Regions from separate parts of the Homo sapiens genome. Here region 1 is linked to region 2. Evidence: promoter capture Hi-C in human tissues and cell types (Jung and others, 2019). All regions are on one chromosome and are shown on one strand. Each heading gives the region's core, a stretch centred on a gene start or on the middle of the fragment in contact. The rest is flanking DNA. Distances are from core to core; before and after follow the strand shown.

What was found. Contacts are between HindIII fragments. The study calls those that stand out against the background at their distance.
Region 1: a contact is called between a fragment that was not itself captured here and the fragment with the promoter of GFRA1 in region 2, in 2 of the 25 tissues and cell types used here (H1 embryonic stem cells and adrenal gland).

The regions. Positions count from the first base shown.
Region 1 is chr10:116,380,427-116,386,551 of GRCh38, forward strand. No RefSeq gene overlaps it. Among named protein-coding and RNA genes, the nearest start is that of PNLIPRP3, 44 kb to the right of the region's middle. The HindIII fragment of the contact is 3,312 bases long and covers 1,784-5,095 here.
Region 2 is chr10:116,271,290-116,277,274 of GRCh38, forward strand. It overlaps GFRA1 (GDNF family receptor alpha 1), which reads right to left and starts at 1,917. Exons shown (of 11, transcript NM_005264.8): 1 at 1,874-1,917; 2 at 701-986. The coding sequence starts at 740. LOC107984273 (a long non-coding RNA gene) reads left to right here and starts at 2,720. Exons shown (of 2, transcript XR_001747598.2): 1 at 2,720-5,543. RefSeq lists an enhancer at 2,082-2,919 and a silencer at 2,128-2,422. The HindIII fragment of the contact is 12,805 bases long and covers 1-5,985 here.

The DNA of each region.
Region 1 (6,125 bases), core at 2,190-4,689, 110 kb after region 2:
CATTTTCTCTGGTGACCTGAACTACTGCAACTGAAAACAGTGTAGTTAGGATCGGATCATACTTAGTATTGCTACCAAATTTCCAATATCACTTATCTTTCTGCCGTTACCATTTCTGACTAGACAGAAAGTCTATTGTCTGAAAGTGTATTGACTGATATAAGAATAGCTACTCCTGAAGTCATTATATGAAAAAGATACTTGCACATGAATGTTTATAGCAGCACAATTCGCAGTTGCAAAAATGTGGAACCAGCCCAAATGCCCATCAGTCAACGAGTGCATAAAGAAACTGTGAAATATATATACGATGGAATACTACTCAGCCTAAAAAGGAATGAATTAATGCCATTCACAGTGACCTGGATGAGATTGGAGAATAGTATCCTAAGTGAAGTAACTCAGGAATGGAAAACCAAACATTGTATGCTCTCATTCGTAAGTGGAAGCTAAGCTATGAGGATGCAAAGGCATAAGAGTGACACAATGGACTTTGGGGACTCAGGGGGAAAGGGTAGGAAGGGGGTGAGGGATAAAAGACTACGAATTGGGTGCAGTGTATACTGCTCAGGTGATGAGTGCACCAAAATCTCACAAACCACCACTAAAGAACTTACTCATGTAACCAAACACCACCTGTTCCCCAATAACCTATGGAAATTAAAAACAAATCACAAATAAAATAAAAATAAAAGTTTATTGCAACAATTCAACAAGGCCCTAGATTGGAGCAGGTTAGGAAGAAAACTTACTTGGGGATATATTTCAAAATAATGAGGGCTAATGTTAGAACCATGCTTTCTTTTGTGGTTGTAGTTGAATTCATTTATCTATTAATGTTAAGGTAGAGTACTTAGGTTTATCTAAATCTCAGAGCAGAGCCTAAGCAAGTCTTATTTCAGAGCAAGTCTTATTTAGACATAGTTTTTTTGTATATGTTAACACCCTTATTTTTCAGAAATTAGCAAAGTTGAAACACTCTCCTTCAGGATATATAGCAATTGCCATGTGTTTAAATAATTTGCAATTTTCAAAAGTAATTTCTAATTTTATTTTTTAAATATTTAAATTAGTAATCAATTATTTTTGCTTAGGAAGAAAAAAATGAATGGTGGCAGAGAATTGCAATATATTTTATATGCAAATACAGAGCGGGAAATGGTTATTGGGATTTGTCATGACCTCAGTTCTGTCTTATTTTAGTCTATTTGTCTACCCTGGAGAGTCCTGTGAATCTCTTTTGCTATATATATTTAGTATGCAGAATTTACACGTAAAGCTTCTTTCACTTACCAGTAATTTTTGCTCATTATTGGTTTTGTAGCTAAAATATTAATGTGAACTAGAGATCAGCCACCTATTTGAATTACTAACACAATGGCATATATGCAGAATAAACTGCTACCGATACAACCGTTCTTTCACATGTGTGTCATATAGAATATCTAGATTAAATATTCAGTAACAGAATCAGTATTCAAATGAATTGAATTTGAGAATAAAACTGAAGGTTCGGTACTTTTATTATTTTAAAATGCTTAAAATGCATAATTTAAGATTTAAACTCATTTTCATATAATCAAATAATTATTTTAGCACTGCATGATAGAGTAATAGAAAGCGGTATCCATGTGATACCAATCAAAATAACTGAACGATTAGAATCAATGTAATTAAAGGAACAAGTTATCTGAAACAAAGGAAATACAGCAATCAATAGAAATCACAGTGTGTGAAACTAAACTGCACATCAAGATAAAATATTAGGAGTAGATTAAGTCTGTTTTTAGGGTTTTTTTTAAGAATTAGTAAGTCATAAAACTCATAAGTAGGAAAATTAACTGAACTTATCTGGGTAAAAATATGTCTCAGACTGAATTCAGTTACTCTGGAAGTAAGACTTTGGCTATACAGAAAGGCAATTTTTAAACGAATGTCCATTCATTAAGTAAATTCATTAAATTTTCCGTATACTTAGTTATGATCAAAACGCAAACTAACCCAAAGTAACACTGATACTGCTCTGAGGTTTGTGGCTTGCCACCATAGTTCTTTAATGTAACTCAAGTTCTTTGAGAAGCAACTTTCTAACTCTCAGTACTCCACTGAGGATAATATTAAAATGTAGAGACAGTTTGCTGCGAAATTCTCTGCTGATTAATGGAGCTATTACACTGGGGGAAAAACAGCGACAAAATCATAGGATGTGGAGCATGACCACTGGCCTAGAAATTCCTTTCTTCCTTCCCTGGCCTAATTATTGAAATGGGAGGAAAAGTAAAGAAAAGCTTTAAGGTATCTACAATCAGAATGATTTCTATTCTATCATTGTTTTGTCAATAGTAGTGGTTTGTTTTTTAAAAGAAACAAACAAAAAATTGCCTGCCTGCTTTTTTTTTCTTGGAACTTGAAAAACCATGATGAGATTCTGAAAAGGCTAAGGTAAGGTAGAGGTCATTGTATTATAATGAATTGGAATCTAGAAATGCCTTAAAACAGAGTCAATTGGGATTAGTAATTTTTTGTAGGATGGAAATTATGCTGTGAAAAAATCCACTGAGTCCATTACCAGAAGGGCAAGCAGTAATTTAGCTGGGTAGCTGCAGATGGACAGACAGCATGCACTGGACAGGCCCTGTTCAAAGCTCCTGTGGAGGACAAAGTCCCTTTATATTTTATACCAATCAATCATACATAACTGTGTCACACTATAATGAATAAATCATTTATTTGCAGCCTAGGAAACAGTAGCAGTTCAGTGACATGATTAGAAATAAATATGAGACTATCTTAATGCCGGGTGTATCAGGGTAAGGTGTTCTGTGATTCAAGTATTTATAGTATAAAATTTGAAATTTAAAAGCTGCTTAATGTACTAAAAAGTATTTTAACATTTGAAGCTGATCTATTTTAGGTGAACTTTTATGTTTCTTTTTTGACCCCTCTTCTCTCCTTTTGTCATCCAGAAAAACTTTAGTAAAGAAAATGTTTGCCTCTCAGAATCTAGTTCAGAACATTTTCTGTCAAGGGAATTTTTTTCAGGATGTGAACTAAAAATAAAAAATATTTTTCGTCATTAGCCCGAAGCAGGGATTACATCTTGGGGTTTTGTGGCTCTTTTATCTTAAGACAATAGATTTTTTTAAAATGTAAGAATGGAAAGGATGAAGTTATCTTTTGAAAATATTTGAGGTCGGAATGTATAATCAGTTGCATTTGTGCTTTCTAAACATTATATTTTCAAGTTAAGTAAGTTTTTTCTTGGTTTGCTAATGGTCAAATCATCACAGCAGTAAAGAAGCTTTATTTGTTATTTTACTGACACTTGGCAAAAGACTAATATCAAGACAGCATTGACTACTACACGAGGGAAATCAAGTAATAACTTTCCCCTGCTTTAAAAGGGAGAAACAGGATTTTATCTGTTTGTTGTTAATTATACGTAAGGTCACATTTATTAAACATGAGGAAAAAATTTTGCAGGGCAATGCTTACCGTAGAACATATACTTTGACTGGAGGAAAAAAAAGCCATGACTGATGGTAAAGTGGTCTCCCAGCTGCTGCTATGAAAAGTATCAAGAGCAAAGCTGTCAGAATTGAATGCTGATTTAAACAGCTTTTGATACAGAGTGAATTTGTCTTTAAAAGGCCTCTATGAAATAAACAGCACCAGAATTCAGATGTCTGGGAAAATAAAGAATAGGTGAATATGTGAAATTAATAACAATGTCTGATATAAGTAGCTATTCCAAACAAGGCCCATTGATTGAGTGGGAGAAAATGATTTTATTTTTTTCTTACAACCAGAAGAACTACACTACTTGAATAATTCGAAGTTAATTATTTTCACACTTGTAATAAATTGTCATTCTAATTAGTTGGTAAATAAAACCTTGTTAAAATAAAATCCTCTTAATCTACATTTAATAGATGCAAATACAATTACTAATGATATTTCTGGATATGGCTTTGTGATTACTGAAAGTATTTACAAATTTAAGCCACCATTAAGTGATGTGGTTGTTGAAACAGTTTTTGTAGACTTTAGACAAAGAAGCTCCTGACTGGGAATGGGTGACCTGAGGGTAGTCATAGGGTCAGCATAATGTCAGCTCTACAATCTGGAGCCAATTAACGTTAGTAAAATATCAAGATTATATTTATAGTAGCCTTTTTATTCAATAAAATCAAAGCTCTTTATCAAGATTCTAGTTGTAGACCAATCAGATATGCCATTTTTAGAGGGGGAACTGAGGTTTTGATTGATGATCTGATTTGCATGAGGTCACACAGAGCAGAGGCCCTCTTTATTTACAGTTTAATTGCTTGGGTTTCATTTCTAACACAGCTTAAATATATATTGCTTTTGAAAACGTGCTTACAATAAAATCTTACATAACAGGTAAATATTAGAAGATAAGAGAAATTTAAGAATTATTTAAATCACCCTTTGGTACCAGAAAACATCGATTAATCAGAATCAGCAAATATGAATCTTTAATTAACTAAGAATATCTTTCTACACTCCTTGAGAAGAAAGGGGCAAATCAGAATAAAACAGACTCAAATCAAGTGTTATTGAAAATTCGCCTTCTGGCTATCTCTTGAAAGTAACACCTATTCATCCTGCTTTATTACACTTTCTACAGATGTGTGTTTTTTCTTTTTTTCCAGCACTACCCTGTGGTCATTGATATTTAAAGTGATAACCTGAGGAATGGCACCTTTTTACAATATCAAATAATAAAGGTTATATTCATTCTTCAGTACTTGCTAAGGCAGGAATGTGACTAATAGAAAACATCCAGAAAGATCAACATGTAAAAGAATCTGATTAACCTGAACTTAGCGCTCTTGCTCATTTCCTTTCTCCTTGTATTCTTCCTTCTATCCATTCTTTCATCCATCTCTCCATCCATCCTGGCTCTTGCCTACCTCTCAGAACTCATGCCATACCAGCTCTCCTCCTTGTAGACTCCTCTCCAGCCATACAGATCTTTCTGCCCCCCAAATAGGCCCAACTTGTTCTGGTGTTAGGATCATTTCATGAGCTATGTTCCCTCTGCCTGGGTTGCTCCACCCCCTGATCTCTGTATGGCTGTCAGCTTCTGTCATTCAGATGTCAAGTGAAACGTCACCTCCTCAGAGAGGCCTTCCTTTAAACAATCTATGTAAAGTAGTCACGCAGTCACACTATGACATATCCTAGTTATAAATTCTCTTCATACTTCTTATAATTTGTGACATCTTTCTTGTTTTTCTGTTCTACTTATCACCACTAAAACAGAAGTTCCATGAAAGCAGAGTATTCTTTATCTTGCACATCGCTTATCCCTTAGAGCCTGGAACAGTGTGTGGTATATAGGAAGTGTCCAATAATATGTGTTGAAATATGGTTTCAATTAACTTGTTCATTTAACCTATATTTATTGCTTAAGGATTTAAATATAAATTATTGATTCTCTAGTTAAAGAAACTGGATTCATTTATTGTTGTTTATCTTTCTTGGGTGAATTACCCTGTCTTATTTCTTACTCTTTCTGAGCCTGTTTACTTAGCTGAAAAATGGTAGTTATGTTTGCTAATTTCAGAGCCTATCTATGTTGAACAACCAATAAAAACAATGGAAATAAACCAGAAGAAAGTAATGATCCCACATCCCATCACAGAAAAGTTTGTAGGTCTCTCAATGGTCCCTTACAGCTTTCTATTATCAAACTGTTGATTGGCAGATAATGGTTATGAATGCTACCTTTCCACCACCTGCTAGAATAGGAAGTGAAAATTGTAAGTTACTTGCAAGCTATGAATGTGCATTAGAGTACCTTAAAAGCATTATCTCTCCATGGTAATAGAAAATTTTGAAATGTGTTTGCTTCTGTGATGTATTCAGTCTTTCTGGTCTGAAATACAAAGTGTAAGCAATCCTGTTTTTAATTCAGCATCATATTTAGAGAAATATATGAGTGCCATCTGCTGGATTTCTCTGGTACGACATTGAAGAGAATGACAAATCCTTATAAAAATGTGACCCTTCCTTCCTTCCCTCCTTTCTCCCTCTCTCCCTCCTTCCCTCCCTTCCTTCTTCCTTCCTCCCTCCCTCCCTTTCTTCCTTCATTTATG
Region 2 (5,985 bases), core at 667-3,166:
AATTCCAGCTCCTCTCTCCTCCTCCCGGGCCCGCAAGGAAGAGTGGCGCAGGCTCAGCCCGCGGGCTTCAAGGGTTTGCTCCAGAGCCTGCGCTGCCCACCGCGCACGTCGGCCCTCCGCCCCGGGGCATCCTGGCCTGAGCAACGACCCGGGCTCCCGGGCCACCCCCGGCTCCAGCCACCCGCTCCGCCCGGCTGAAACTCAGGCGCTTTCCGAGGAGAAGTGCGGCGGCGGACTGGGCACCGGGCGCGCGCTGGGCGCGGGGCAGGCCAGCCATGGTCAGCGGTCCGCCGGGCGGAGAGTGCCCAGAAGCTACTCGGGAAAAACTTTTCTCTTCCAAGTTTGCTCTCCCGGCCCCAATGCTCCCCAACTCCACCTGCCCGCCGCGGCTCCGCGAGCTCCCAGAGACTCTCTGGGGGTGCAGGGCCCTGGGCTGGAGGGCTTCTTAGTCCCCCGCCAAGTTGGGTCATTAAAAACCACAGGAAATCAAAACCAAGCCCGAAAAGCTTCAGGCAGCGCCGCGCCGCCACCGCCTCCCTAACCCGGGGATTCGCGATCCCATTCCCCAAAAAGACACTTCTTCCTTCCACATCCACCACACCCGCGCCCCAATTTTGGTGCGGAGGGCGGGGTGGGCTGCTGCAAGCGACCCTAGGAAAGACTCAGAGGGTAAGAAAGCCCGCGGCGGGCCTCGACTTACCCAAGAGCGGCAGCGCGAAGTACAGGGTCGCCAGGAACATGGTGCCGGCGCGGGGCTGGTCCCCGCCCCCCCAAAAAAATCCCGAGCCGCCGCTGGGTCTTGCCGAGGGAGCTCAGCGTGCAGCGATCCCCGGACAGCTGTGCTGCTCTGGCCGCCCAAAGTTCAGCTCCATCCAGTGAAAGAGGAAACTCCGGGTCTGGCAGCAGCCACCGCCGCCGGCGACTCAGCTCCGGGATGGCGAGGGCGGGAGGCGGTTCCGCTTTTAGGGGTTCAGGTCCGACCCAACCTGGAAGGGAGGGCGCGCTTTGAGATGAGAGCGGAGAGCGCCGGAGACTCCCCCCACAGAACCCTCTCCCCTCCCCCGTTCCCGCCTTTGGGGAATTTCCAACACCGGGGTGAGGACCCACCCCCACCCAGGTCGGGGTGCATGTGCGTGTTTTCCAGGGGCCGCTGACACGGGGATGGAGGTGAGGGCTGGAGAGGTCTGAAGAGGGTTCCTAAAGTCCAAGGGGGTGTCTGTTGGGTTCAACCCGAGACGCTGAACGCAAGCAAATAAATAAATAAACGGTACTTTCCGAGCGTCGCGAGCGGAGCCTGCAGCTGCCTGGAGTCCGAGCCCTCGGTGGCGGCGGCGGCAGCTCCCTAGCCAGCCCTGGCGCCGAAAGAGCCCCTTCTCCCGGGAAGTTGGCCTCCCCCTCCTCGCGTCAGCCAGCGAGCTCGCTCAGCCGCCGGCCCTCCCCACTCCGATCGCCAATCCCTAGCCCCAGTCGCCGCCCTCCTTCTCCCCGGGACTCGTCTCCCTCCAGAGGCCGCCAAGCCAGGGGGAACCGATGTCCCGACTGGGGCTGAAACCCGGTTCCTGCGCCCCTACCCCCTACCCGCCGCGCGTCCTCGGCTCCCTCCTGGGCGTCCGCTCCTCTCACACTCTCGCCCGGTGCCCAGGACTCGGGCGCTTCCGCACCCCAGCCCAGGGCGAGCGCGCCGGCCCGCAGTCCCGGCGTGCCCCGGCAGGTGCAGCCCGGCGCCACGAGCGCCCCCCGGGCCCTAAAGTTGGGAGACGCCAGCAAAAAGAAAGGGGTGGCCGGAGGAGGGGGGAAGAAGGAGTGGGGAAGAGGGACGGGAAGCGGCAATGGGTTCCCAAACAGAACGAAAAAAACTCCAAATGCCACCAACCTGGACTCAACCGACCGCGTCCAGCTGCGGCGAGGAGCCAGTTTGTTTATTTACTTATTTATTCTTTCAGGGCAATGGTGTCCCCGCCCCCTCCTTCCCTTTCCGGGCTCACTTTATCTGCGCTAGGAAAAGAAAAAAAAGAAAAAAAAATAGATGCGGTAATCTTCGAGAGCTCGAAGGGCCGAGTTGGGCCAGGACGATTTCCGAGCAGAGCCCTCGGCTCGGATGCTCGTTAGGGATGTTAGTGGTTATTGGAAGCGGCGCGGAGAATGGCGTGTTCCGAGGCCAGATTTCTTCTGGCCAGAGGACCCTCGGCCTGCTCCTGTTCCCGCCGCTCCGCAGCTCCAGCTCCCTCCTAAGCTCGCCCGCCAGGCAGCCGCAGCTGCACACGCCCGCTTGCGGTGGGACCCGCGGCCGGACCCGTACTCGCGCACAGGACACGCAGTGTTCTGCAGCCGGCCGCGGGTGCTGCCAGACACACACACTCTCTCTCTCTCTCTCTCTCTCTGTCTCTCTCTCTCTCTCTCTCTCTCACACACACACACAGACACACACACACACATACACGGGCACAAGGGCTCTTTCTTCTTAGGGCAATCGAGCCAGACCCTTCTTCGGAACACAAAGTTTTCCCCCACGTCACTAGTGGCTGTGATTCAAGACTTGGTGCTTTCAAGACACACTCAGACCCAGGACGCTGGAGCGGCGATCCTGGGATGCGCCCATCCGTTCGTCCACGCCAGCGCGTGCACACTCACACTCACACGCACACATGCACACGCAGTCTCTACCTCTCTCCTGGAGCTCCGACAAGGAGACAAAAGCGGAGCCCCCAGCCCACTGCATTTAAACCCGGCCAGACCTGGCTTTAGAAAATTTATAAGCTGACCTCCATTTTGGCTGTTTCGAGAGTAAATTAACAACAACAAAAAAAGCCTAACATGTACACAGCCCTTCGCCCCAACCCCTGGGACCGCTGGTTCCCAGTCGTGCTGCTCACCCCCCGCCCCCCACGCCTGACACACGCTCCCCTTCCCGCACGCCGGGGGGCGCCCGGGGCACCGAAGTCTACACTGGGTCGGGAGACCGGTCTAGGAGCCAGCCGGCAGTGCTCGGGATCTTTGCTGATGTCCAAGTTCATCTCTCGGGGAGACCGAGTTTGAATCAAATCTGCGTGCGCCCAGCTGTCAAATCTGCAAACCTATCACGCCAGACAATGGGCCGCCGCGGAGGACAGACAAGAATGGCTCATTTTGATCGAGGGGGGTAAATTGAAAAGGGCACGGGCTTTGGTTGAAGTTTGAGGCCCGGGTGTCAGGGCGGGGAGAAGAAGAGGAGGAAGGAGGAGGGTTGGGCCGCTCTCCATTCAACCACACATCAGCCAGGCGCGCCCCTCGGCTGCAGCGGCTGCTTGCAGGCGGGCTGCATATTGTGTGGAGTCGCCAAAGAGGGTCTGCGCCTCGGGGCGCGCCCCAAACCCGGGGGACATCCTACGGATCCGCACTTCTCTTGTGCTGTACGCGTGTTCCTCCAGGGTAAGTATGAGGAGACGGACGCCCTCATCAGACACCCCTCCTCCAACACACACACACCCATAGCCACATCATTCAGGGATACTCTAGTTCAGTGTATCAGTTTACACTTGGTTGTTGAGTAAACAAAGCAAACATATGTCACATTTTCGCGACAGATGGTTCAAACCAAGGGCTACTTAAGTTCTCTCTCTCTAACAGTCTAAGTTACAGGCTGAACTAAGCAGAAATGTAATTAAGTCATCTGATCAGTTTCTTCGACTTAAAATGTTTTCCCATATTTTCACAAACAAGCCAGATAAATCCTGGGGATGTGGTTTCAAGGAAAGGAGGGCTGAATATGAACTAAGACTTTGTGTGAAGACTCCGTTTCTCCCCGGTCACCCCAAACAGAAAATCCTCTTTCATTGTTCCATTTCGTAAGTGGAGGAGAATGTCTTCTTTTGGAAAATCAGTAATTGGAATTTCAATTTTCAATAGAGGGACTAGTGCTTACCGGTGCTGATTACTTGGGATAGTTGGATTACAATGAGGTTTAAGACATCATCCACATCTTTTGTAAATGTTCTTTGTTTAGAAATGACTTCATGTTACCCTATATATTCCACGGAATTCTTTTGAATCAAATTTTAACAGGGTGGGGGAAGGGTGAACTAAAAGCTCTCCCAGTGTAGAATATGGGACTTCTTTTTAAAATACAGATGATCTCCAACTTATGATGCTTCTACTTATATTTTTAGACTTTACCATGGTGCAAAAGCCATATACATTCAGTAGAAACTGTATTTTGACTATGGACCATACAATCATTCTATTTTTCACTGTCAGGTTAGTATTGAATAAGTTTCATGAGATAGTCAACACTTTACTATAAAATAGCTTTGTGTTAGATAATTTTCCCCAACTGCCGGCTAATGTAAGTGTTTTGAGCATGTTTAAGGTAGGCTAGGCTAGGCTGTGATGCTTGGTAGTTTAAGTGTATTAAATGCATTTTCAACCTATGATGTTCTCAACTTTTGATGAGTTTATCAGAGCATAAGCCTCATTGGAAGTCAAGGATCATCTGTATTTTTAGCTTCAATAATGTATTTCTGAACCATTCACTCACACTTGTCCTTATTAAGTTTGTGCTGCTGATGAATACAGAGCTTTGTTTTTAAAAAGGTAACAATAAACCCCCAGAGGCTGTAACTGTGTTGTCCAATACAATAGTCACTAGCCATGTGGCTATGTCAATGAAATTAATTAAAATTAAATAAAAGAAAAATGCAGTTCCTCAGTAGCATTAACCATATTTCAAGTGCTCAATAGCTACATGTGGCTGGTGGCTACCATATTGGACAACACAGATATAGATCATTTCCATCATTGCAGCAAGCTCTACTGGACAGCACTACCCTATAATGTTGGTGTGGAATTAGTTAATGTGGTATATACACATATATAAAGTTTTTAGAATAGTAGAATAGTGCATAGAGTGCTTACTTCATAAGCAGCAGCAGTACTGGGGGTTGTAGTTGGAAGGATAATGATGATGATGATGATGATGATGATGATGATGCCTTGTTAGTCTCTTGTAGAAGTCAAAGAATCGATGAAGACACAGCCCACTTCTGGTATGTCAGGATGAGATCAGCAGGCAAAGAAGCCAGGGAGTAGGAGAATCTATATGTCAAAAGCTGATCTTCCAAGGAAAGCTGTGAACAGAAAGATGTGGCCCATACTGTAGCCTAAGACTTCCCGTAGTAGGAGCTAATAAAAATAATAATTAAAAAAATCACTGCTTTACAACTACATCCATTAACTTTTTTTTTTCTTTTTTTCTTCTTTTTTTTGAGACAGAGTCTCGAGCTGTCGCCTGGGCTGGAGTGCAGTGGCATGATCTCAGCTCACTGCAACCTCTGCCTCCTGGGTTCAAGCAATTCTCCTGTCTCAACCTCCTAAGTAGCTGGGATTACAGGCACCCACCACCACAACCAACTAATTTTTTTGTATTTTTAGTAGAGATGGGATTTCAGTATGTTGGCCAGGCTGGTCTCAAACTCCTAACCTTGTGATCCACCCACCTCAGCCTCCCAAAGTGCTGGGATTACAGGCGTGAACCACCACGCCCGGCCTACATCCACTAACTTCTAAAGGTGAGAGAAACACACTGCCCTTGGAATATCGAAGACAGAAAAGCATTGTGACTTAATGTATTAATATCATCTCTGTTTCCTTGGAGCTTATCTGTTCCTATGTGTATGGGACTGATCTCAGGATGAAAGGTGACATCAAAGTATCAAATATTATTGATAATTATAAAGGTTCATGTAATCCTCTGTGACATGTTGCTCAGCAGAAAATTGGTTTTAATGCCACAAAATTAGGTTCAATCTACCCATAAGCACGTGAAGTGAGCAATTTTCTGGCATTTCTTGATGTAAGTGTATTTTCATAAGTTAACAGATGAGTCAGGATGAGAATGACAGTTTTATTCCATGCAGCATTTTGTCTGTTTCTCTCATTGCCTTCCTTGGCCCTCCATTTTGTAAAATTCTACTGCTTAAAAAGCATTCAGATTTTTTTAACTCATTCTAG